Regions from separate parts of the Homo sapiens genome. Here regions 1, 2, 4, 5, 6 and 7 are each linked to region 3. Evidence: promoter capture Hi-C in 16 types of primary human blood cells and fetal thymus (Javierre and others, 2016). All regions are on one chromosome and are shown on one strand. The core of a region is centred on a gene start or on the middle of the fragment in contact, and the rest is flanking DNA. Distances in the headings are between cores, read along the strand shown.

What was found. The method cuts DNA at HindIII sites, captures the fragments that hold promoters and counts their contacts. A CHiCAGO score of 5 or more calls a contact.
Region 1: a contact is called between a fragment that was not itself captured here and the fragment with the promoter of DERL1 in region 3, in 3 of 17 cell types (M1 macrophages, M0 macrophages and M2 macrophages). The highest score is 6.8, in M1 macrophages.
Region 2: a fragment that was not itself captured here is called in contact with the fragment with the promoter of DERL1 in region 3 in 17 of 17 cell types (total B cells, M2 macrophages, naive B cells and 14 more); the score reaches 12.6 in total B cells.
Region 4: a contact is called between a fragment that was not itself captured here and the fragment with the promoter of DERL1 in region 3, in 10 of 17 cell types (M2 macrophages, total B cells, M0 macrophages and 7 more). The highest score is 12.9, in M2 macrophages.
Region 5: a contact is called between a fragment that was not itself captured here and the fragment with the promoter of DERL1 in region 3, in 11 of 17 cell types (M0 macrophages, M2 macrophages, M1 macrophages and 8 more). The highest score is 15.3, in M0 macrophages.
Region 6: a contact is called between a fragment that was not itself captured here and the fragment with the promoter of DERL1 in region 3, in 4 of 17 cell types (M2 macrophages, M0 macrophages, M1 macrophages and 1 more). The highest score is 18.0, in M2 macrophages.
Region 7: a contact is called between a fragment that was not itself captured here and the fragment with the promoter of DERL1 in region 3, in 1 of 17 cell types (monocytes). The highest score is 5.5, in monocytes.

The regions. Positions count from the first base shown.
Region 1 is chr8:122,696,629-122,699,997 of GRCh38, reverse strand. LOC107986904 (a long non-coding RNA gene) reads left to right here. Exons shown (of 3, transcript XR_001745738.3): 3 at 1-165. Among named protein-coding and RNA genes, the nearest start is that of LINC01151, 4.2 kb to the right of the region's middle. The HindIII fragment of the contact is 5,531 bases long and covers 1-3,369 here.
Region 2 is chr8:122,736,903-122,739,982 of GRCh38, reverse strand. No RefSeq gene overlaps it. Among named protein-coding and RNA genes, the nearest start is that of ZHX2-AS1, 43 kb to the left of the region's middle. The HindIII fragment of the contact is 2,242 bases long and covers 603-2,844 here.
Region 3 is chr8:123,040,733-123,043,762 of GRCh38, reverse strand. DERL1 (derlin 1) reads left to right here and starts at 1,461. Exons shown (of 8, transcript NM_024295.6): 1 at 1,461-1,793. The coding sequence starts at 1,641. RefSeq lists an enhancer at 1,512-2,051. The HindIII fragment of the contact is 6,787 bases long and covers 82-3,030 here.
Region 4 is chr8:122,714,099-122,717,420 of GRCh38, reverse strand. The region is part of intron 1 of LOC107986904 (a long non-coding RNA gene); the gene reads left to right. Among named protein-coding and RNA genes, the nearest start is that of LINC01151, 22 kb to the right of the region's middle. The HindIII fragment of the contact is 972 bases long and covers 1,412-2,383 here.
Region 5 is chr8:122,680,012-122,683,192 of GRCh38, reverse strand. All of the region lies in intron 2 of LINC01151 (long intergenic non-protein coding RNA 1151), which reads left to right. Among named protein-coding and RNA genes, the nearest start is that of LINC01151, 13 kb to the left of the region's middle. The HindIII fragment of the contact is 4,320 bases long and covers 1-3,181 here.
Region 6 is chr8:122,657,281-122,660,384 of GRCh38, reverse strand. No RefSeq gene overlaps it. Among named protein-coding and RNA genes, the nearest start is that of LINC01151, 35 kb to the left of the region's middle. The HindIII fragment of the contact is 1,651 bases long and covers 491-2,141 here.
Region 7 is chr8:123,385,492-123,388,533 of GRCh38, reverse strand. The region is part of intron 1 of ATAD2 (ATPase family AAA domain containing 2); the gene reads left to right. Among named protein-coding and RNA genes, the nearest start is that of ATAD2, 9.4 kb to the left of the region's middle. The HindIII fragment of the contact is 1,196 bases long and covers 707-1,902 here.

The DNA.
Region 1 (3,369 bases), core at 64-2,563, 340 kb after region 3:
TTGGCCTCACATTTTCTTTCTTTCTACTGGTCCACATGACTTCATCCCAGCCCATCAGCCCTGGAGGCTGGGCTAAGGACAGCCCCACTATTTGAGCCTGCTCTTCCTTCCTATCAGGAGCAAACCATCATGAAAATCAGCCCCATTAAACTCTGATTGTCTGTGTCTGGGCCATGTGTTTCCCTTGTCAAGGGGTTGAAATGCTTTGATTTAAGGGTAGGCAGGATACTTCTTTTAATGTTTTTAGTTAGGACTTGGTCAGCAAACAGGAACAAACCTGATCAAATGTGGCATAAGCAAACTGCAAACTCGGCTCATGTAACAAGACCAAGGCAGCCCTGGCTGCAGGCATAGCAAGATTCAGGGCTCACATGATGCAATCACGTGTCTCTCCTTTCTGCTTGCTTTGCAATCTGTTGACTCCAGTCTCAGACTCCATTTGGTAGCGAGATGGCAGCTTCAGTTTGTGAATTCTCTGGTGCAGCAGGAAAGAGGTAGCCTGTTTCTCAATAACATAAACGAAAGTCATGGAATTAATTAATGCAAAAATATTTATTGAGGTCCTAGTATGCACCAGACATTCTTCTACATGCTCGGGATACTGAAGTGGACAGAGAGAAGAGGTTCCTGTCATCATGGAGCTTACTTGAGTCTTCTTGGGCTCTGACATGACTGTTTTTGGCCATGTGTAATCTGTGAGCCAATCACTGTAGCCACGAGTACGCGATGTGCTGGGTCATGTGCCCCACTTAAAGAATGCAAGCCTCAGGCCAGGCGTGGTGGCTCACGCCTGTAATCCCAGCATTTTGGGAAGCCGAGGTAGGCGGATTGCCTGAGGTCAGGAGTTTGAGACCAGACTGGCCAACATGGTGAAACCCTGTCTCTACTAAAAATACAAACATTAGCCAGGCATGGTGCTGGGTGCCTGTGATCCCAGCTACTCAGGAGGCTGAGGCAGAAGAATCGCTTGAATCCAGGAGGCGGATGTTGCAGTGAACCAAGACGATGCCACTGCGCTTCAGCCTGGGCATTCTTTCAAAAACAGAATGCAGGTCTCTTTTTGAGTGCCAGGACTATGTCATAGTTATGTTTGTGATGTGTCCACAAAGCATAACCCAAGGGCTGTCCATAATAAGCACATGAGAAGTGACATCAAACGAGTGAACAACTGAGTAAATAAACCACAGAGAGAGAAAGTTCATGAAAGGCAAATGTGTAAAAACACACGAAAAGGGGACAAATCCAAGTAAATCGAACAACGAAATGCTAGCTCTCAGTTGCCAATCCAAAAAGAGACATAATATTCACTATAGATGTCTTGCTAAAAATATTTGCCCAGTGTGTTTCATATCAGGCCAAGAAAATCCTGCTCATTATTCAGAGAAACATTAGACACAAAATCTGAAGTTGCAGTTCATTTCAGAGTTGTCCCTGGGGGGTGTCAACAAACCGGGGTCACTCTGGACCTCACACTTTGAGGAGCAAGTGAAAGAAGAAATGAAGACAGCTCACAGCTGGCAGCTAAAATATGTCGATGTCATTATGTAAATATCTGCCACCCACAGCCCTCCATGGTCTCTCTTGCAGCCTGCTGTGGGCACCTGGGAAACACTTCTCCCTGTTGTCTGGTGTTCTTGGACATAGCCTCTTAGTTCCTTTGATGTTCTGCCCTTGATGTTCATTTTATGCAGCTTTCAACTGGTAAAAAAGTTTAAGGCAAGGAAAAAGTCTGGAAGAAAATTTATAGCTCCTAAATTGTTAACATGTAAAAGAGCCATTCGTTGGTCCTAAATCCTAAAAGCGTGGCTCTGTATATCTTGTATAAAACCTATGTGGGTTGGCACTTGGAGGGATGTATGCAATTTTAGTCATTACACTGCTTAAGGAAGGACCTATAAAGGACACGTAGAAAGAGGCAAACTAAATTATTAAGAGGAACCTACATTTGAGCATGAGCTCAAAGGAGGTGGACTCCAGCATGGAGAGACCAAAGCTCTAAGAAGAAATAAGTACATGCTATGAATTCATGAAGGGCATAGAAAAGATGCCTGTAAACAAACTTATTCACCAAATTTCAATAGAATCAAATAAGAGGGGCAACCATGGGGTTTCAAAAGGGTCAAAATTGTACAAATATTAAGTGTAAGTGGCTTTAAACGATGGTGGCAAACATGAAATTTAAACTAATTTTTATGTTTTAGAGACACAGTCTTGGACTTAATAAAAAGAGCTTTAAAAGGTATATTGGGGACAATTGGTAAAATTTACAGGTAAGTCACATATTAAATGGCACCATTTAACCGAATAAATGTTAGCTTTCTTAGGTATGATGGTGGTGTGCTTATTTAGGAGAATGTCCATATTCATTCAAGATGCACGGTGAAATGTTGGGGGAAACATGGCTGGATTTTGCAGCTGACTTTCAAATGAATTAGAAAAAACATCTATAAATATATGAGAGAATGACAGAGCAATTGTAGCACAATACAGTCATGTGCTGCATAATGACATTTCAGTTAACAATGGATTGCCTATCTCGACGGTGGTCTCATAAGATTATAATGGAGCAGAAAAGTTTCTATTGTCCAGTATTATGCTATGCTATGCTATGCTATGCTATGCTATGCTATGCTATGCTATGCTATACCATACCATACTATACTATACTATACTTTATTTATTTATTTATTTTTTGGAGACAAAATTTCGCTCTTGTTGCCCAGGCACGATTCTGGCTCACTGCAACCTTCAACTCCCCGGTTCAAGCGATTCTTCTGCCTCAGCTTCCAGAGTAGCTGAGATTATAGGCGTGCACCACCACACCCAGCTAATTTTTGTGTTTTTAGTAGAGACGGGGTTTCACCATGTTGGCCAGGCTTGTCTCGTTTATCTATTTATTTTTGAGACAGGGTCTTTCTCTGTTGCCCAGTCTGGAGTGCAGTGGCATGATCGTGACTCACTGTAACCTCAAACTCCTGGGCTCAAGGAATCCTCCCGTCTCAGCCTCCCAAGTAGCTGGGACTTCAGGTGTGTACCATCACACTTGGCTAATTAAAATGATTTTTTTTTTGTACAGACAGGGGTCTTACTATGTTGCTAGGCTCATCTTGAACTCCAGGCCTCAAATAATCCTCCCACCTCAGCTTCTCAGAGTCCTAGAATTAGCACTCTGAGTACCTAGCATGGAATTTATTACCTTTAGAAGTAGCACTGTTTGAAAATATAAAGTCCTTTAAGAATTTGGATATGTTCATGAGTGATGGGTCAAGAGTGATGGGTCAGATATGTTCGTGAGTGATGGGTCAGAGACTTGAAGATGCTTTTGATACTGCCCTACCCACAGAGAACAATCACACCCACCCTTGACGC
Region 2 (3,080 bases), core at 474-2,973, 300 kb after region 3:
TCCTGACTCCTTTAACTTACACAGCTTGCCAGAGGCCCATCTCTTTAGCTATTCCTGTTGCCTAAAAATGCATTTATTCCAGGGAGTCACTTGAACACTCCCTACTTCCTTCAAATCTTTGCTTAAAATCTGCCCTTTTCAACGAGACCTACCAAGACGACGCATTTAATATTGCAATCTGGTCCTCCCTAACCCTCATTTTGTTCTCTCTTTTGCGTTAGCATTTATCACCTTCTAATATACAATGTCATTAACTTGCCATTTTTACCCCTGCCCTGCTTTCCTCAAGGACAAGGTCTATGTTCACTTTGTTCCCTGATCCCAAGTTTCTAGAGGTGCCTGGCAATAGCATATGCTCAATAATTATTTGTTGGACTAACCATAGTGCTTGTCTTTCTCTTCTTGGCTGACTTTAATGGCAATTTGCAATTAGTCTCCCTGATACAAAATGTTAAGAGTGGTGTAAATATGACAAAGACATGGTGATAGTGATAATTTTAAACTCAGGGCCACAGTCAAATTGCTAAGGAAGAACTTGAGAGCCTGCTCATCCATTCTTAAACATTTAACAAATCACCTCTCTGAAAACATCCGTCTAAGCTTCAGCATTCTAGACAGCTCCTCTGTCCAATAGAAATATAATACAAGGACACACACATACTTTTAAATGTTCTAGTAGCTACATTAAATGAGTAAAAATAAACAGGTGAAATTAATTTTAATAATCCATTTCATTGAATCCATCATAGCCAAATATTATCATTTCAACGTATAATCACTGTAAACATAATTAACGAGTTTTTACATTCTTTTTTTTTCTCCCTAAGTCTTTGAAATCCAGTGTGTATTTTACGCTTCCAGCACATCTCGATTTGGACTCACCACACTCTAAGTGCTGGGCAGTCACAGAAACCAGTGGCGTCCATACTGGACAGGGCAGTTCTGGAGGGGAAGACATGGCCTTTTTCTTCTAGCGGCTTCTATGTGAGCCAGTGGCAGGAGCACGTGGTAAGTTCAGGAGCAGAGGTGGGAACTGGGTACCAAGAGAAGACCAAGGCAGATGGGATTAGTTCTGTCTGAAGGGAGAGAAATTGGCAAAGATGTGAAAAATCAGGTGTTTATTTTAACATCATTTACTATCTGGTGACAAATTGAAGGGCTCATGAATGGAAAAGAACTTGGGGTAACTATGGTTCAACCTCCTTGTTTTATAGGTAGGGATGCTGAGATACAGAAAGGGGAAAAATCAGGTTTCTGTATCTGAAAACATCCGTCTAGGCTTCAGCATTCTAGACAGCTCTGTCCAATAGAAATACAATACAAGGACACACACATACTTTTAAATGTTCTAGTAGCTACATTAAATGAGTAAAAATAAACAGGTGAAATTAATTTTAATAATTCATTTCATTGAATGAAATGAATCCCCTTTCAGATACAGAAAGGGGAAAAATACAGAAAGGGGAGGTGGACTAGCTCAGGGTCACACAGCAAGTCAATTTCCTTCTCTGTAAAATGACAAAGCCCCTGTTCCACCCTCTCTTCAGAATTCTTGTTGGAACAAATGGGATTATAAACAGGATGTGTCTTGCATGGAAGAAAGTCTTTTTCTTCCATGCTAAAGTACATGTTAGCGCATGGCTAAAAATGTAATTTCCAAAGGGACTCTTTCTGAGGGGGTGTGGGCCTCAAGTTTCCCCATGTGTCACATGCTTCAGGGCTAAAGAGGCCTTGCTGAAGTCTATGCACTGCCACAAGCTGTGTGTGTTGTGGGTTCACGTCTTTGCTGGTCCCAGTGCCTCCTCCGTATAGAAAGCCCGAGTGCAGAGTCTCCTGGGAGGGGAAGGAAGTGGGTTTGAAGACAGGGAGATTAGGGTTTGCATGATTAGGCTCAGCCACTAATTGCCTGAATGATGTTGGGCCAATCCCTCACTCTCTTTAAGCCTCAGTTTTCTTATCTGTAAAATGGGAGTAACCACAAGGCATGTGCCAGGTTCTTGTTGTGAAGGCTCATAAAGGTAGCTCATGGGAGATGCTCACAAACATTTTTATTCCACCACCCCTTCCAGCCCCAGCTTTTGATATGGCCATTCACCCATTGCACCCTCCAGTGTGCCTGGCACCAGGCTGAGTGATTTGTAACACTACCCCTGAAAATTCTCATACAATCACTTCTGTTAGGTGATTGAGAGGTGTAGGTGGAAGACATGGGAGATTGGCGAGAACCACGTGAAAATCTGCCTTTTCCAAATCAGCCCAGGTGTGACCTCTCACAATTTTCCCTCCTCAATCATTTCCCTCCATGGCAACTGGCAGGGTAGGCAGGGGCTTGTGGGCCCCACATATTCCATTTTTTCCATTCCAGTTTCCTGCTGAAACTTCTTGTGCAGGAATTGCCCCAAGAGACAACAGGAGCCAAACTACCTTATGGAGTAGTGGCAGGAATTCACAGGGTGTCACACTCACCTGACGAGATTTCAGAGGGCGCCCTGGCCACGCCTCTTGGCACTCTGTCAAATCAACTTTCTCCTTATTTCTATTCATTGCAGAAATGTGAAAATTCAAAGCTAGAGTAAAATAAACAATGATAATACAGCCAAGATTGTTAAGAATAATATCTGTATATTTCTACATGTAGATGGAGATTTAAAACATGGTGTTGGATTATACTCACTTGTGAAAGTTGCTTTATTTCTATATAATGTATGACTATCACCTTTCTTTTGGTCCATAAATATTCATTTGAAAGTTATTTAACAGCTGAGTGGAATTCTCTATTATGACTATACCCTATTACTGGACGATGAGTTCAGGACTGAGGTTTTATTGTTAGAAAGCAAAGCTTTCATGCAAGTCCCTGTCAGCTCAGCCTTTGTGCATGGGCTTAATTCTTTCTTCAACTTAAATTCCTGCATTGAAATAGATGAATAAAAAGTTACACAATAAAAACTCTTAAATAAGAAAATTGTACTTAAAAAAGTATAAAAAAAGTAGGCATGCATGATTTCTATAGTGACAGTCCCCTTACTCTCTCTGCCTCTCCAAGCCATCCCTGGAGCACTGGTAACATTCTGTTGGGT
Region 3 (3,030 bases), core at 212-2,711:
ATGGAACATCCCATTCTTGTCCAGAGCATCTGAGCCATACAGGTCACTTTGACACAGGATTTTCAATACAGGTACAAAGCTTTAGATAGAGTTTTCAGACCCAACGTTTCACATTTGTCGTAATTTTGAGATTTCCAAGGAAAGAGCCTGCTTCCTACTCAGGTCTGATGTTAACCTGATGCTGCACACAGCTCTGCTTTGCTTCGAGTCTATCAAACACTGCTCCAGTTAATTCTTACCAAAAAATCCCCCCATTCCCATAACCCAATAATGACACTTCCGTTTGATGAGAGGCATTGAGGTTCCTCTGGAGTGCAGTCTCCCTTGCTGCAGCAAGTTAATAAATCTAACTTTGTTGACTACAGGTTTGTTCCTGGTGCTCTTTATTGGAAGACTTTAGCAATCTTAAACTGCTGGCCCCAAATCCCAAAACAACGGGAAACTCTACTCAGTATCTTTTCTTTTTTTCTTTTTTTTGAGATGGAGTCTGGCTCTTGTCCCCCAGGCTGGAGTGCAATGGTGCAATCTCGGCTCGCTGTAACCTCCACCTCCCGGGTTCAAGCGATTCTCCTGCCTCAGCCTCCCAAGTAGCTGGGACTACAGGCGCCCTCCACCATGCCCGGCTAATTTTTGTATTTTTAGTAGAGACGGGGTTTCATCATGTTGGCCAGGCTGGTCTCGAACTCCTGACCTCGTGATCCGCCCGCCTCGGCCTCCCAAAGTGCTGGGATTACAGGCGTGAGCCACCGCGCCTGGCCAGTATCTTTTCTTAAAGATTCCTTCTTATACAAGTTGAATTAGACAAGATGGATCATTTTGGCTTTTAGTTCCTCCAACATTCCAACCTAGTTAGAGCGGCTTTTCTCTGTGCATGGAAAATTCTTCCCCCAGATCTCTTGCCTGGCTGGCCCAGTTCATACCTAAGGTAGCCATCTGTCCTCACACTGCCGCACCCCCACCCCGTCACTCCACCTCATCATCTCATTTCATTTTCCTATTTTTCTAATCACTCTCTGAGATTATCTTACTTCATTATCTATTTGTTTATAAATTATCCCAATGAGGATGTTAAGATCAGGAGAGAGGGTACCACGACAGCGCTGACAGCCGCAGCTGCCCAGTGTCTAGAACTGTGCCCAACAAACACTTGTGGAATGAGTAAGCAGACGAGGAACTAGACACTTCGTTTGCCTTCGTCCCCTTTAAATACCCTCCAGGTGGACCCAGCCGCATTAAAACTCTGAGAACTAGGTGAATGGCATTTGGCCTCGCCACTGGCCGGAGCGTTTGCCGTTGATCCAGGCAACCACTGTTTTCCCACCAGTCGTGTAGTCGCTCTACCTGGCTCCGCCCCCCAGGACGCCGAGCCTCGGCCGGGCGGTAAAATCGGCGCTTACCCTTTAAGCGGCGGGACTTCTGGTCACGTCGTCCGCGGTCGCCGGAAGGGGAAGTTTCGCCTCAGAAGGCTGCCTCGCTGGTCCGAATTCGGTGGCGCCACGTCCGCCCGTCTCCGCCTTCTGCATCGCGGCTTCGGCGGCTTCCACCTAGACACCTAACAGTCGCGGAGCCGGCCGCGTCGTGAGGGGGTCGGCACGGGGAGTCGGGCGGTCTTGTGCATCTTGGCTACCTGTGGGTCGAAGATGTCGGACATCGGAGACTGGTTCAGGAGCATCCCGGCGATCACGCGCTATTGGTTCGCCGCCACCGTCGCCGTGCCCTTGGTCGGCAAACTCGGCCTCATCAGCCCGGCCTACCTCTTCCTCTGGCCCGAAGCCTTCCTTTATCGCTTTCAGGTACTTACCGGAGACGGGGGGCGTGGAGACTACAGGCCCCAGGAGGCCCAGCGGCGGCTAAGCGTAGGCTGGCATGTTGCGGGCGCGCGGTGCCTGCTGGGATTTGTAGTGGGTCCGGCGCCGGCGGTTTAGGGCGGGGTCCTTTGGGCCCGGGGAGGCTCTGGGATCTGGAGCGGGGTGCTGGATAGCTGGAGTTGTGGGCTGGCCTGGTGGGGAGGGGTTGACTTCACTGGTATAGTGAGATTGTGCTTCCCGCTCTTCGCACTCAGTGAAGGAAGCAGTGAGATTAGTCGTTGGTAGTTGTCAATCTGTTGGACGCTGGCGATTAGGTCCGCCTGGAGCATTGCCCTCTGACCTCCCTCTGTCACCCACGTGGGTGGCCTGTAGGTGTCAACTTCACCAACTTATAGCTGAGTTCCTTTCACGTTTATGGAGTTTTTTTGTTTTGGTTTTCCTATAGGAGTGATTTAAAGTCAGAGATACAAAGAACGAGTGTATTGTTCTGCATTTCCCTCTAGACCTAATTTAGTGTCCCCCACGTAGTAATAGAATGTACGAAGGAATGGGCAAAGAGTACATTTGTCCAGAAATGGAAGGCCTTGTTATTTTCTTAAGCATGAAGGAAACAGTCCAGAGTAACATTTCTGTCAAGAGAGTGCCAGTTTTCTGAAGGTTATCTGTATTCACCAATTTCTGATTTAAAACTTCAATCAGTGGCAGGTCAGATAGCAAGATCTGGCATTAATTTCAGCCCTTTACTTGGCCTATGGATAACATTTTCTTGTCTTTCCCTGTCTTCACTGGGTGTTACTTCTTGGTTTCCTTTGCTGGTTCCTTATCTTCCTGACTTTTAAATGTTAGGATGTGCCTTGGGAATCAGTTATAGGACCTTTTCTATAGACTCTCCCTAGCTTTAGGTGGTCTCATTCATTCAGCCTCAGGGCTTTACATACTTTCTATAAACTGGAGATTCTGAAATATAAATATAAATATCTTCAGTCCAGATCTGTCTCCCTATTTCCAGATTTGTGCATCCAGCAGTTACTTGAAATCACGACTTGGATGACTAAGAGTCATCTTCATCTTAACGTGTCCAAAACTGAATCCCCTTTCCCCCTTTGCCTTAGAAGTGAATAGCAACTCCGTTATTAGAGGAGCTGAAGTTAATTGTCGGAGTCATCTTTTATTTTTCTTGTTTTTCTCACACCCCACAATCTGTCAGCAAATCCTATTGACT
Region 4 (3,322 bases), core at 648-3,147, 330 kb after region 3:
ATGGATTTAATCAATTTATTAACAAATAAAGAAAGTAAAAACCAAACAACTAATTCATTGACTGTTTTCCTCACTTTTCAATCTGTTTTTACTTTTAGGCTCCATCACTTTTATGGCAGCATACGTACTTCTTGTTCAAACAGTTGGCTTTCATTTCTGGAGATTAATGTTTAATATATCATAACTGTAGTCCCTCAGGCAAACATACACCTTAATTGTCAAAACAATGAAAATATCATTCATGGCAAATATTCAATCCATTGCACTCTTGTTGCGGTCATCAGCTGGATTTTTAGAGAGAAGTCGGAATATGTCACGGCAATACGAATAATAAAAAAGGGAATCTAATTGCTGTAGCCAATTACTATACAAGGAAGAATTCATCAGCTGACTCAGGGAATTCAGCCACAAGAGAATCCAGCTGTAGCATGCATCATTAGTGGAATTTCTTGCCTGAAAATGGTGAGAGGCTTTCCTCTGAAGAGAAGGTTCTAGAAACACTGTTTCTTGTTTTGTTTTTCCCTACCCCAACCTCTTTTCTTGACTCTTCTTCTCCCAAATCCTACTCCTTTCTATGCTCAGACTCTTCTTTCTTTCATAGTTTTCCCAGACATTGCTGGGAATGGATTCTACATTCAGTTACATGGAGGTATAGATTCTAACTAACTAGCAGGTTAGCATTTGGATGACGAGTAGGTTTCCTCTCCTTGGCCAGATGTGGTCAACTGCTGTGGCTACTGAAATCCTGAGTTGAGAAGGTTTAGTTTAGAAGATGAACTTCACCTAAAAGAGTATTGTGATTGATTAGTGATGTCTGTTCTGGGTATGAGTGAGGTACAATTATTTGTGTAAGCTTCTATCAGCTCTGTCAAGGTGGAAAGCCAACACTGTTCTTATAGCTGTGATTTTAATGAATGAACTTGGGATTTGGTCCCAGGAGATGCTAGTTTAGGTCCCACCTCTTCTCTTTCTATGTAAATCTTGGATATTCTTGGATGTGTCACTTATTTTTTCTCAGTCTTAGTAAAACTTGAATTAAAATAATCCTCCTTATGGAGTGATTGTAAATATTGTAAGACTGATGCAGCTTCATTCATTCAATCATTCATCCAGAAAATATTTCTTGAGCACCTACTATGTGCCAGGCAAGGTGTGACCTGCTGGGAGTACAGTGAGGGGTAATATGGATGTGGTCTCACCCTCAGAGAGCATGCATCTAGTGGGGGAATGTGTTAGTTTTCTATTGCTGCATCACAAATGACCACAAACTTAGAGGCTTAAAACAACATACTCTATTGTCTCACAGTTTCTCTGAGGCAGGAGTCTGGGTCTGGCTTAGCTGGCTTCTCTGTTCAGGATCTTATAGGGTTGTAGTCAGGGTATCACTGAGCTGAGTTCTCAACTAGAAGCTTGCCTGGGGAAAAAGTCTGCTTCCATGTTCATTTAGGCTGTTAGTAGAATTGACTTTCCTACCATAGTATGTCTGCAGGTCCCAGCTTCTGGATAGCTGTTGGCTGGATTCCACCCTCAGGTCCTGGAGACCACCCACAGAAACAAAGAGGCCTCCTGCAGTTCCTTGCCACATGGGCTTCTCCAACCTGACCACTTACTTCAATCAGCCAGCAAGGAGGGTCTCTTGCTCCAGTTTCCTGAAATGGAGTCAAACATATCATAATACTGGGGATGACATTCCATCACCTTATTGGTTAGAATCAAGACACAGGTCCTCTCCACCCTCCAGGGGGGAATATATCAAGGAACGAAGAGTAGGGGGCAAAAATTACTGGGGGTTACCTTAGAGTTTCTCCACTGCAGAGGTGGACACATAAGCAAGAATAACAACAGTGTGTTAATTGCTATGGCAAGGGAGCTCCAGGGTGTAAGAAAGTGCATACTGGGGCACGTGAACAGTCTCAGGGTTGTCAGGGAGGACTTCCTGGAAGAAGTGACTTTTAACTGACACCCAAAGGTTGAGTAGGATTAGCTATATCATAATGTAGTATCCAGATATTAGGTTTTGTTGTTGTTATTTTTTATCACCTAGAATGGAAACTATTTATTAGTTAAGGTCTTTCCAGCCCAGAATACAGTAGGACTCATTCGATACTTGCTCTGAAGACTCTTCTGTTAATGCATCCCCAAAGAAAAGCAGCTCATGTTCTCAGCTTTGGGGTGACATGGAGATAAGTACTAGGGCTGGAAGGGTGATAGTAGGTCAAGAATGGAATTCTAGGGATGTCTCTGTCCAGACAGCATCAATTCCCTCCAATGTTCCCATGTAAGGGAGAGAGACCAATGGTGGCTGTAGGACATTATGCAGGAGAAACCACCATCTGCTCCAGATTGGGCCGATGGGTGATGAATCTACGGCCCAGCCAAAGCTTTTCCCATGGCACATGCACCTGTTTAGAAATAATGAGAGCAATCATAATTGTCACCAAAAGTCATGTTCTAATATATTAAGGAATTTTAATAGGAATTACTTGCTGTTAGTAGGAATAGTACATCCTGTTTTTGAGCACTTGCTGTGTGACAGGCACTGGCTAAACCTGATGTGCTTGAGTTGGATAATCTATCTCAAAACAGAGCTTTCTCCATATCTTCCAACAGCACCAAATGAAATGCCAGTGAAAAGGCTGTCTTCCTTTTTTCTTGCTATTAAAATTCTCCTCATCCTGAATGCTCCATCTCCAGTCTCACTTCTTCCAAGAAACCTGTCATGACCACTGTGTGGTCATGATACATATCATCCGTATCATCAAGTTCATCACCAAATTAACTTCTGTCTTCCAGCACTTGCTAAAGAGGATGACTGCATTTTGACGATCCCTTCCCTCTGTTCCTTCCTATCTGTGCTTCCACTTTATGATCTCTATCCCAACTAGTCTGACAACATGAAGCCTGGTCTCTCTGCCAGCAGCCATCCCGTCCCACTGCTCAGCCCTGGGTGGTGCGGACAGATTGGAATTCCTAAAGTTCAGCCCTGATTGTGCCACTTTACAGCTCAGAAACTTCCAGTACCAAATCTTTAATCCACCAGTTTCACTTCTCCCAATGTGCCCTCCAGACCTACTTGCTCATGTGTGAAATGATGACTGGAGTACTTGTTGAGTGCTGTGTTGCTTACAATAGCAAAAAGTCTGAAGCAGCCTGCGTATCCATCAATGGTGTCTTGATGGACAATAAGTTATGGTGGATCTAAAACTGGTTTTCAAGCCTGGCTGCACATTCAGGTCACCTGGGTGTGGTACATTAAGGTGATTACAAATTTTCCTCCTATTCAGAAGTGGAGTCTAATTTCCTTTCCCTCAAATCTGGGCTT
Region 5 (3,181 bases), core at 152-2,651, 360 kb after region 3:
CCTTCCAGGAGGTCTCATGGAAGCCCCTTCACCTAGGCTTGAGGTGGTTAGAAACAGCCTCTCCCCAGAAGGGTGGGGAGTGTAAGGATTGGCAGCTATCTCCCCAAATTCTTGTCTAATCCCAGCCCAGCTCCAAATTCTTTTTTTTTTTTTTTTTTTTTTCAGAAGGAGTGTCGCTCTGTCACCGGGTCTGGAGTGCAGTGGTGCGATCTCGGCTCCCTGCAAGCTCCGCCTCCCGGGTTCACGCCATTCTCCTGCCTCAGCCTCCCGAGTAGCTGGGACGACAGACACCCGCCACCACGCCCGGCTAATTTTTTTGTAATTTTTTTTTTAGTAGAGACAGGGTTTCACTGTGTTAGCCAGGATGGTCTCGATCTCCTGACCTTGTGATCCACCCGCCTGGGCCTCCCAAAGTGCTGGGATTACAGGTGTGAGCCACCGCGCCCGGCCTCCAAATTCTTTAAAGTTCGGGTGGTGGATAGATTGGGGCCCTAAAACCCGTTTCTGACTACCTCCTGTGTAAGTCTTTGTGGTCTTTCACTTTTCCTTAGAAATGGGGTGCAGTCACTCTTGGTGTCTTGGAGCCTCGGCTGATACTAAAACAGAACCTGTTTTAACACACTGTTTTGCACAAACACAGAATAAAGAGGCAGACGGTATGCCTGTCAGTCTTGCAGAGGCCTCCGGGAAAGAGAAGATGGGGAACTGGATAGCATGATTTCCAGGGTTCCTTCCAACCCAGAGATTGCACGGCAGGCTGGCAGGGAATAAGAGAAAGCATTGGACCTATTCCCTGACTGTGCTATTAGAGAGACAAGACACGCACTAAGCACCCTGGTAGCAGATCATCACAAATGCTCTTGATGGTAATATAAATGCAACAACAATAAGTATGAACAGTCAAGCCTTGAACCGTTTGGAATGAGCTTTATGTCTCAGAGAATAGGGAGGAGTCAACTCACTGTTGTAGAAAGTTGCTGAGAGGAGGTAGACGTCAACTAAACTTGGTGTTCTGAGAACACGCCTTTAAACCTCCTTGGCCTCTCCTCCTGGGCACTTCGCACTTGTTTGTTCTCCCAAATGCCTCCTTGCCAGGAAATCAGTCCCAGTCCCTGTAGTTGGAGGTAAAGTTGTCATCTACTTTTTGCCATTGCACTTTATCTACACTACTTTTGTGCATCTTGTCTTATAATTGAGTGGAAGCCTCAGAAGGACAAGGGCTTCTTTCTTTACTCACAGTGATATTTCCTTTCTGGGCCCGGCACATGGGGACACACACATACACGCACACACACACAAACACGCACATGCACACACACATGCAAACACACACACATGCATATGCACACATGCCCACACGCACACACATGCACACACACGCACACACATGCACACACATGCACATGAGCACGTTGATATTATTCTTTTGTCCACGGCACTGAGTTAGCGGTTGGCTGAGTCAGGGTTGGAGCTGGGTTTCTGGGTTTCCACTGCACAGCTCTTTCTACCTCCTACCCTGGACTCTCCACTCTCTGGCTTCCCAGGTCTCTGGGCACCAGGAGGCTGGAAAGCACTTTGCTGGATATTCCAATTCTGTTGGCATTTGTGACTGAGGACATGTGCCCAAATTCATCCTGTGTGTTTCCAACTCAGAGCCTTCTGGAACAGAGGTGCTCCCCAGAGGTGGGGAAAATGCAGCCGGAGGAGATGGGTCACAGAAAGCTACACACCCGGCGCTGGTCATGCTGAGCAGAGCAGGCCCTCACGTCCCAGTGGCTCTCCCTTCTGTGTACATTTAATGAGCTTTTGGCTGCATTTCAAGGAGACCTGGCCTTGGGCACGGGGCATGGAAATGAACTTCTGAGTGAGCTCTCTAGGAGAAAAATAAAGGCCTGGCCTTGGGCCTGATTGGAGCCCCATGACTCTGCCAATGCTACGTAGAGAAAAAGGCAGTTGTGTTGAGTTACCGCATTTTAAAATAGAGGCTGTAAACCCTCTCATTTTATGGGTGGAAACCAAGGCTCAGAGAGGGGTTCTGATGCCCAGGTTTATGCATCTGGCTTAGCAGTAGATTCAGTCACCACTAGACTCTGCAGAGCCACTACAGAGGCCAGCTGGAGAGAGGTCTGAATCCCTGCCAATCTTGTTCAGTGCCACCTCAACTTTGGAGAACTCCCGGCCTTCTCTGGTGAATTATAATAGCTGCTTCTGCACATCCTGCCTCTGCATGTATCCCTCTGTGAGCCATGTGTCCCTGGAGAGCCTGCACCATGTGTTTATCATCCCTGGATTACCAAGAGAGGGCCCATTGTGGGCCCACAGGGATCCCAGGGTGGGTGGGGCACTGACTGGCACCAGGGCTGGCTTTTCCAAGGAAGTCAGGCCCAGCTCTTCCTGCCAATGCGCCTCCTTTCTCTCTCCTTTCATCTCCCGAGCCTCAGAAAGCTGAGCAGTTTCTGTTGAGGATACCATCCTGTTCATTCTAGGAGGGCAGCCTGCCAGAAGCAGCAAAATTTCTGGCCCATTTCCCAATGCAAAGGACAACTGGGAAATGGCCTAGAACAGTGCCGTCCAATAGAAATGTAATGTAAACTATACATTAATTAAACATTTTCTAGTAGCCACATTAAACAAAGAAAAAAGACACTGGTGAAATTGAGTTTAATAATATATTCTATTTAAGCTAAGATATCTAAAACGTCATTTCTGCATGTAATCAATATAAATAATTATGAATGAGATACTTTGCATTTTTTGATATTGAGTGTTCAAAATCTGGTATGTATTTTATACTTATGGCACATCTCAATCTGAACTCTAAATTTTCATAGAAAATATTTGATCTGTATTTCAATTTCATAAAATTTACAATTGAAACAGTAGAGTCATCTCTCCGCATTGTTCTAAACATAAAGTTTTTTCAATAACTGAATTGTCTATTTAAAAACTTACATTTACCTTAATTAAAGCAAAATTTTAAAAAGGCAGTTCCTCAGTTACACCGGTTACTTTTTGAGGGTCAAACACAGGCTCTAGAAGGTGCAGAGGGAGCTCTGGCAGAACATGACTGAATCAGGTGTGTTAGGCTGTTCTTACACCACTATAAAATACCTGAGATTGGCTTTTTTTGTTTTGTTTTGTTTTGTTTTTTGTTTTTGTTTTTTTTCTGAGACAGAGTCTC
Region 6 (3,104 bases), core at 67-2,566, 380 kb after region 3:
CAGCCGGGGAAGGCCAGGAGCTATCCAAAGATGGAAGTGACCAGGAAGGATTCTTCTCCAGGGCCTTTGGAGGAACAGTGGTACTAGCAACACCTTGATTTTGGACTTCTAGCCTCCAGAACTGTGAAAGAATACATTTCTGCTGTTTTCAGCCATGTAGTTTGTGGTAATTTGTTATGACAGCCGTGGGAAAAGAATCCAGCAGAGAAGATGTGGGGCCTGAAATAACTGCTGGGTCAGCAGAGGCCTGGCTTAGTACTGATTGTACAGAGACATCTCAGCTGGAGGAAAGGGCAAGAACCACACTTTTCAGCAGCAGGTGCCAGCTTATTGCCCCAAAGGGTGGGGAGGCACTCATTGTGCCAGAGAAGATACCTGTGCTGGGTCCCGGAGACCCGCCCAGCTCAGCTGCCTCCTAGGGAAGATTTGCCTTCCATGAAGGAGGTCTTACATATGAGGTCTCGTCTCTAGCTACTGCAAGATAAAAGCTTTCTTTTGCACCCAGGCATGAAAAAACCCTGAAAAACTGAGCGTTTGCTTCTCAGCGACTCAGCTTGAAAGAGGCTGTTTTAAACTGGAAGAGGTTGAGAGGCCTTCAGTTGGTGAGTTTATTATTTTCCCTTGCTCCTCTGTGAAATGAAGCTCATGAAGAAGCGTAGGTCAGGTACAGAATATAAAAGAATGACCTTTTCTTTTTCCTGGACAATTTAAGTGCACTGTCATCTCACAACCTCAAACTCTTTAATATGGTAATGAGAGGCAAAAGGCATTTTAATTTGGAGCTATGTCGCAGTTTTCCAGCATGTGAAGAAAGCATCCTCAGTTGCCAAAAGGTCACGTGTGGGATTAGTTGCTAGGCTGTGGGATTATTTTTCTAGGCTTGCTGGGGAAAAGGGCAAAAGAGAAGAAGCAAACTAGCAGAGTCATGTGGCGTTTCTGTCCTGGGACTTACGCAAATTATGCAATTGTCCTTTGCATTCAAATCTGTTCCTCTTCCACCTGATATTTTGCTGAGGGGACAAGTGAAATTCCAAAGCTCAGTTTGCTGAAGTGTGCAAAATGCTAATCAGCTTCCACAGCCCACAAAGTGGCAGAGAGGGCGTGCCTCTCTGGAGAAGAGAGGAGAGACTGGACTAGGAGCTGGGAGGAGTCTGGCTGACTCAGCGGCCCCAGACAAACGCACTTCCATCCTTTCCCATTTCCGTTGTGAACTCTTCTCCGTGGGCAAGAAGAGGACTCAGAACAACTGCTATCTTTTTACAAAGAAGGATGATGTGCAAGGGGGTCATTTACAAGAGGATCAAGGGTTTGGCTATGTTGGGAGATGCTGATTTTGATAAATGTTTCCATATCTCTACAAATGTGCCTTTCTGAGTCTCCAGTTAGACTTGAAAAAGACTTTGGAGATTGTCCCCTGCACAGTGGCTCTGAGCCTGGACACCTAGGAGATGCTCAGTAAATATCTGTTAAATAAATGAAGGAATGGATATAGTCCAAACTACTTGGTCATGCATCCAGTTTGTGGCAGATTTGGGTCTCTAAGGCCCAGTACACTAATCACTCAGCTGGGAGTTTTTATTCTGTTCCATCTTGCTGCTAGGACAACTGTAGCCACCCAGAAGGATGTCTCAACGCTCTGGAAAGTTCTCTGGCTGAATGTTGCTATGATACAATCTTTTAACAAGCTGATTGCTCAGTAGCAAGAGCAAGTGCTATTTATGTTGGGTAAATAAGAAGAAATGCTGCCCTACTGATATTTGTTAAGTGCCCCTTTAATATTTGTGAGGAGGCGATCTTGACAAAATTTTGAGAGTGTATACACTGGCAAATTTTACCTTTTATGGACTGTAATATCCTATTGCTACTTGATTTAAAAATCTTTCCCTCTCTTCACATATATCCATATGAAAAAAAACAGCAGAGAGAGATATATGTATATTATATGGGAGATATCTATCTATCATCTATCTATCTCCCACTTATGACCTGAAAGCCCCGTCTTTGAGATGTTCTGCCTTTCCAGCCTAAATCAATGTATACCTTACATGTATTGATTTATGTCTTTGCCTGTAACTTCTGTTTTCCTAAAATGTATAAAACTAAACTGTAATTCAGTCACCTTGGGTACACTTTCTCAAGCTTTCTTGAGACTGTTTCCCAGGCCATGGTCAGAATAAACCTCCTTCAATATTTTACAGAGGTTTTTTTTTTTTTTTTTTTTTTTTTTTTTGGTTATCAGCATTCATCCACCAAGGAGGTCACCAGAAGCTTTGGTGGACAGTTTTCATCCAGGCCAAGGGAATTCTAACTCAGGCATCTTTGTCTCGCTGCCTGAGAGTGTTCTCTGGTGGAAACATCATGCTCAGCCCATGTATTGGGATTGGGGAAGAGATCTGAAGTGCCAGGGAGTTAACTCCTGGGAGAAATCTTCAAACAAAGAAAGCAGGCAATTGGTGGATAAATACCCCAGTTTCTTTACCCCTGATGAAAACTTTCTGAGGTGTATTCTATAGAGGCTTTTGGGGGATACCCAGGAAGCTTGAGCCCCAGTTGCCCACAGCTATAGTCCATTTATTAATGCACCTTTGTGTAGCTGAGGACTGGGCCACCTGCTTGTGTGGCTTATTTATGCCCTCTGACCCTGTCAGTGCCTGATTATGGATGTGCTGCCTCCATGTGGCAGTGGATTGCTGCAGGGTTGCCTTGGCTTATGACTTCTTGGGTGTGGTAGAACCCAGCTCATGATGGGAATCCAGCTCATAATGGGAATCCAGCTCACGATGGGAACCCAGCTCATAATGGCTGCATGATCATTTGATGTCCATGGTTATAGGCTCCATCTTTACTAGCATGTGAGGGACTTTTTTTGCATGGTGTGTTGTTCTTTGCTGTGAATAGCCTGGAATTGCCATAGAATAGGGGTTGCCAACCCCTGGGCCTTGGACCCGTACCAGTCTATGGCCTGTTAGGAACTGGGTTGCCCAGCAGGAGGTGAGTGGCGGGCGAGTGAGCATTACCACCTGAGCTCTGCCTCCTGTCAGATCAGTGGCAGCATTAGGCTCTCATAGGAGCATGAACCCTATTGTGAACTGCACATGTGAGGA
Region 7 (3,042 bases), core at 55-2,554, 340 kb before region 3:
CTAGTCCCAGCTACTCAGGAGGCTGAGAGAGAGAATCGCTTGAACCCAGGAGGCAGAGGTTGCAGTGAGCTGAGATCGTGCTGCTACACTCACTGCACCCCAGCCTGGGCGACAGAGCAAGACTCCGTCTCAAAATAATAAAATAAAATAAGATAAAATACATAATCAGTAGCCAGGCGTGGTGGCACATGCCTGTAGCCCCAGCTACTACCGGGGAGGCTGAGGCAGGAGGATCTCTTGAGCTCAGGAAGTTGAGGCTGCAGTGAGCCATGATTGTGCCACTGTACTCCAGCCTGGGTGAAGGAGCAAGATCCTATCTCTAAAAATAAATAAAGAAGGTAGTGATCAGTTCTGTAGAATTCAGTGAGGTAGAGAAAAGGCTATTGGATGTAGCTATTGGGAGACAGTTGTGAATGTACTGAAAGAGCTGTGGAGGTAGAAACTAAGTTGGAGTTTACCGAGTAGATGGTGAAGTGGTTTAAACTCATGTTTAAAGACAAAACTAAGGAAGGATATCACAACTATAGTGATATAACATGTATATCATGTATTAGAATATACTGTTGTTTAAGTTTTCAGGGAGCCCTAAATTTGTGTTGAGTACATCCTATTTCAACCTCATTTGTTGATATTTGAATTGACTCAAACAACTGACCTCCCCCCCAAACATGCTTTTTAAAAAATGAATTTAAAGCTTGAATAAGCTTGGTCTTCTGTGAAAAATAACATAGAATATTTTTATTATGCAACTGTGTATACTTTAGGAAAACTTTTTTGTTATTTTATTGCTGCTTTTTCTCTATGTTAACTTACTGATTCTGCAAGGTTGTGAGAAACTTAAAATTTAACAAAATACTAACATTTCCTCTCTTAAAACTTCACTTTTAAAGAACTATAAGTGCTCTCAATATTTAAGTAGATTTTAGCCAAAGAATAAATGAGAATATTACATCTCTAGGTTAAAATTTCAGACTAAGTTTGTTTTCTCTTTGTTTTTTAGTTTTTAGGAATTTTTTTCTGGTAATACATGTGAAAATGTGAAAAATAGAAAGTGAAAGTCCCCATCTCTGTCATCCAATGTTAATTACTGTTAACAGTGTTGAACTTACCTCTTGGGAATTAGATGACTTCGGTTTAATACCTGTGCTAGTCTTCCTTAGGAAAGAAGATATACACAAGATAATTCATCTAGAGATATTTATAACATCAGAAAAAATTGCAGGCAACCTAAATATAATACATTCAGCAATTTGTTAAATAGATTCATGTAATGGCTGAAATACTATTCATTCATTAAATTTTTAGAGTAATATTTAATGACATGAAAAAATATTGATATTACTAGAAAAAACTTATAAAACATATAGTATTATCTCAGTTTTAAAATCATGTAAATATGTTTGCATAGGAAAAAAATGGTTTTTGCACCAAGAGATTAAAAGAGGTTGTCTGTGAGTGGCTGAAATTAAGGGTGACATTTTCATTTTTCCAGTAATAATGGGCATGTATTGCCTTTATTTTTATATTGCTTTTGTTAGAACTGTTTTTGAAAGATGCATTTAAAAATTTTTTAGTGTATACTCTATATAGAGGACTCCCACATAATTTTTTTTTTTTTTTGCCCACATTGTTGAGTCTTTCTTGCTGCCTAGTACTTATTTGGAGAGAATGACAAGCCGTTCACTATGCACATCAAAGATTCTCTTATACCACTTATAAGATTGTCTTCCAAGTTTCTTAGGAAATGTTTTTTCCTAGTATTGTCCCCATCCACCCCTTTTCTTGTTTTGTAAGGAAACAAAATCTTTTTTTATCCTCAGGAATATGGTAGCATTTATTTTCTTTTTTAATGTACCAAAATATACATAACATAAAATTGACCGTTTTAACCGTTTTTAAGCTTACAGTTCATTAAGTACATTCACATTGTTCTGCAACCATCATCACCATTCATCTCCAGAACTTTTTCATCTTCCAGAATTGAAACTCTGTACCCATTAAACACTTACTCCCAGTTCCTCTCTCCTCCTAGTCCCTGGCAACCACTGTTCTACTTTCTGTCTCTGAATGTGACTGTTCTCTGAATCTCATATTCCTAGACTAATCATATTTGTCTTTTATGACTTGCTTATTTCACTTAGCATATCTTCAGAGTTCATCCATATTGTAGCATGTGTTAAAATTTCCTTTTTTAAACAAGAAGGAATAATATTCCATTGTATGTACCATGTTTTGTTTGTCCGTTCATCTGTCAGTGGACACTTGGGTTGCTTCCCCTTTTGGGAATTGAATAATGCTGCTGTGAACATGAGTACAAATATTTGTGCAAGTCCCTGCATTCGCTTCTTTGAGTGTATACCCAAAAGTGGAATTGCTGGATCATATAGAAATTTTGTGTTTAACTTTTTGAGGAATTGCCTTACTATTTTATGTTACCACCAGCAACACACAAGGATTCCAGTTTCTCTACATCCTCACCAACAATTGCTATTTTCTCCTTTTTTTTTTTTTTTGTGAGTAGCCATCCTAATGTGTGTGAAGTGTTATCTCTGTGGTTTTGATTTGCGTTTCTCTAATGACTAGTGATGTTGAGCATCTTTTCATGTGTTTATTGGCTATTTGTCTATCTTTGGAGAAATCTCTATTCACATCTTTTGCTTATTTTTTAATTGGTTTGCTTGTTTTGCAAAGGAGTTCTTTAAATATTCTGGAGATATATATATGTATGCGTGTATATATGTGTGTGTGTGTATGTATATATAAAACCTTATATACCTTATCAGTATATGATTTGCAGATTTTTTTCGTATTCTGTAGGTTGCCTTTTCACTCTGTTGATAGTGTTCTTTATGCATAAAAGGTACTCATTTTGATGAGGTCTAACTTACATATTTTTATTTTGTTGTCTGTGCTTTTGGTGTCATCCAAGAAATCATTGCCAAATCCAATGCTGTTTTCTCCTAAGAGTTCCTAAATTGTTTTTTAGTTCTTTATTCTCTCATACAGTTTTAAGTTATCATCTCAACTTCCCCCTCATTTATT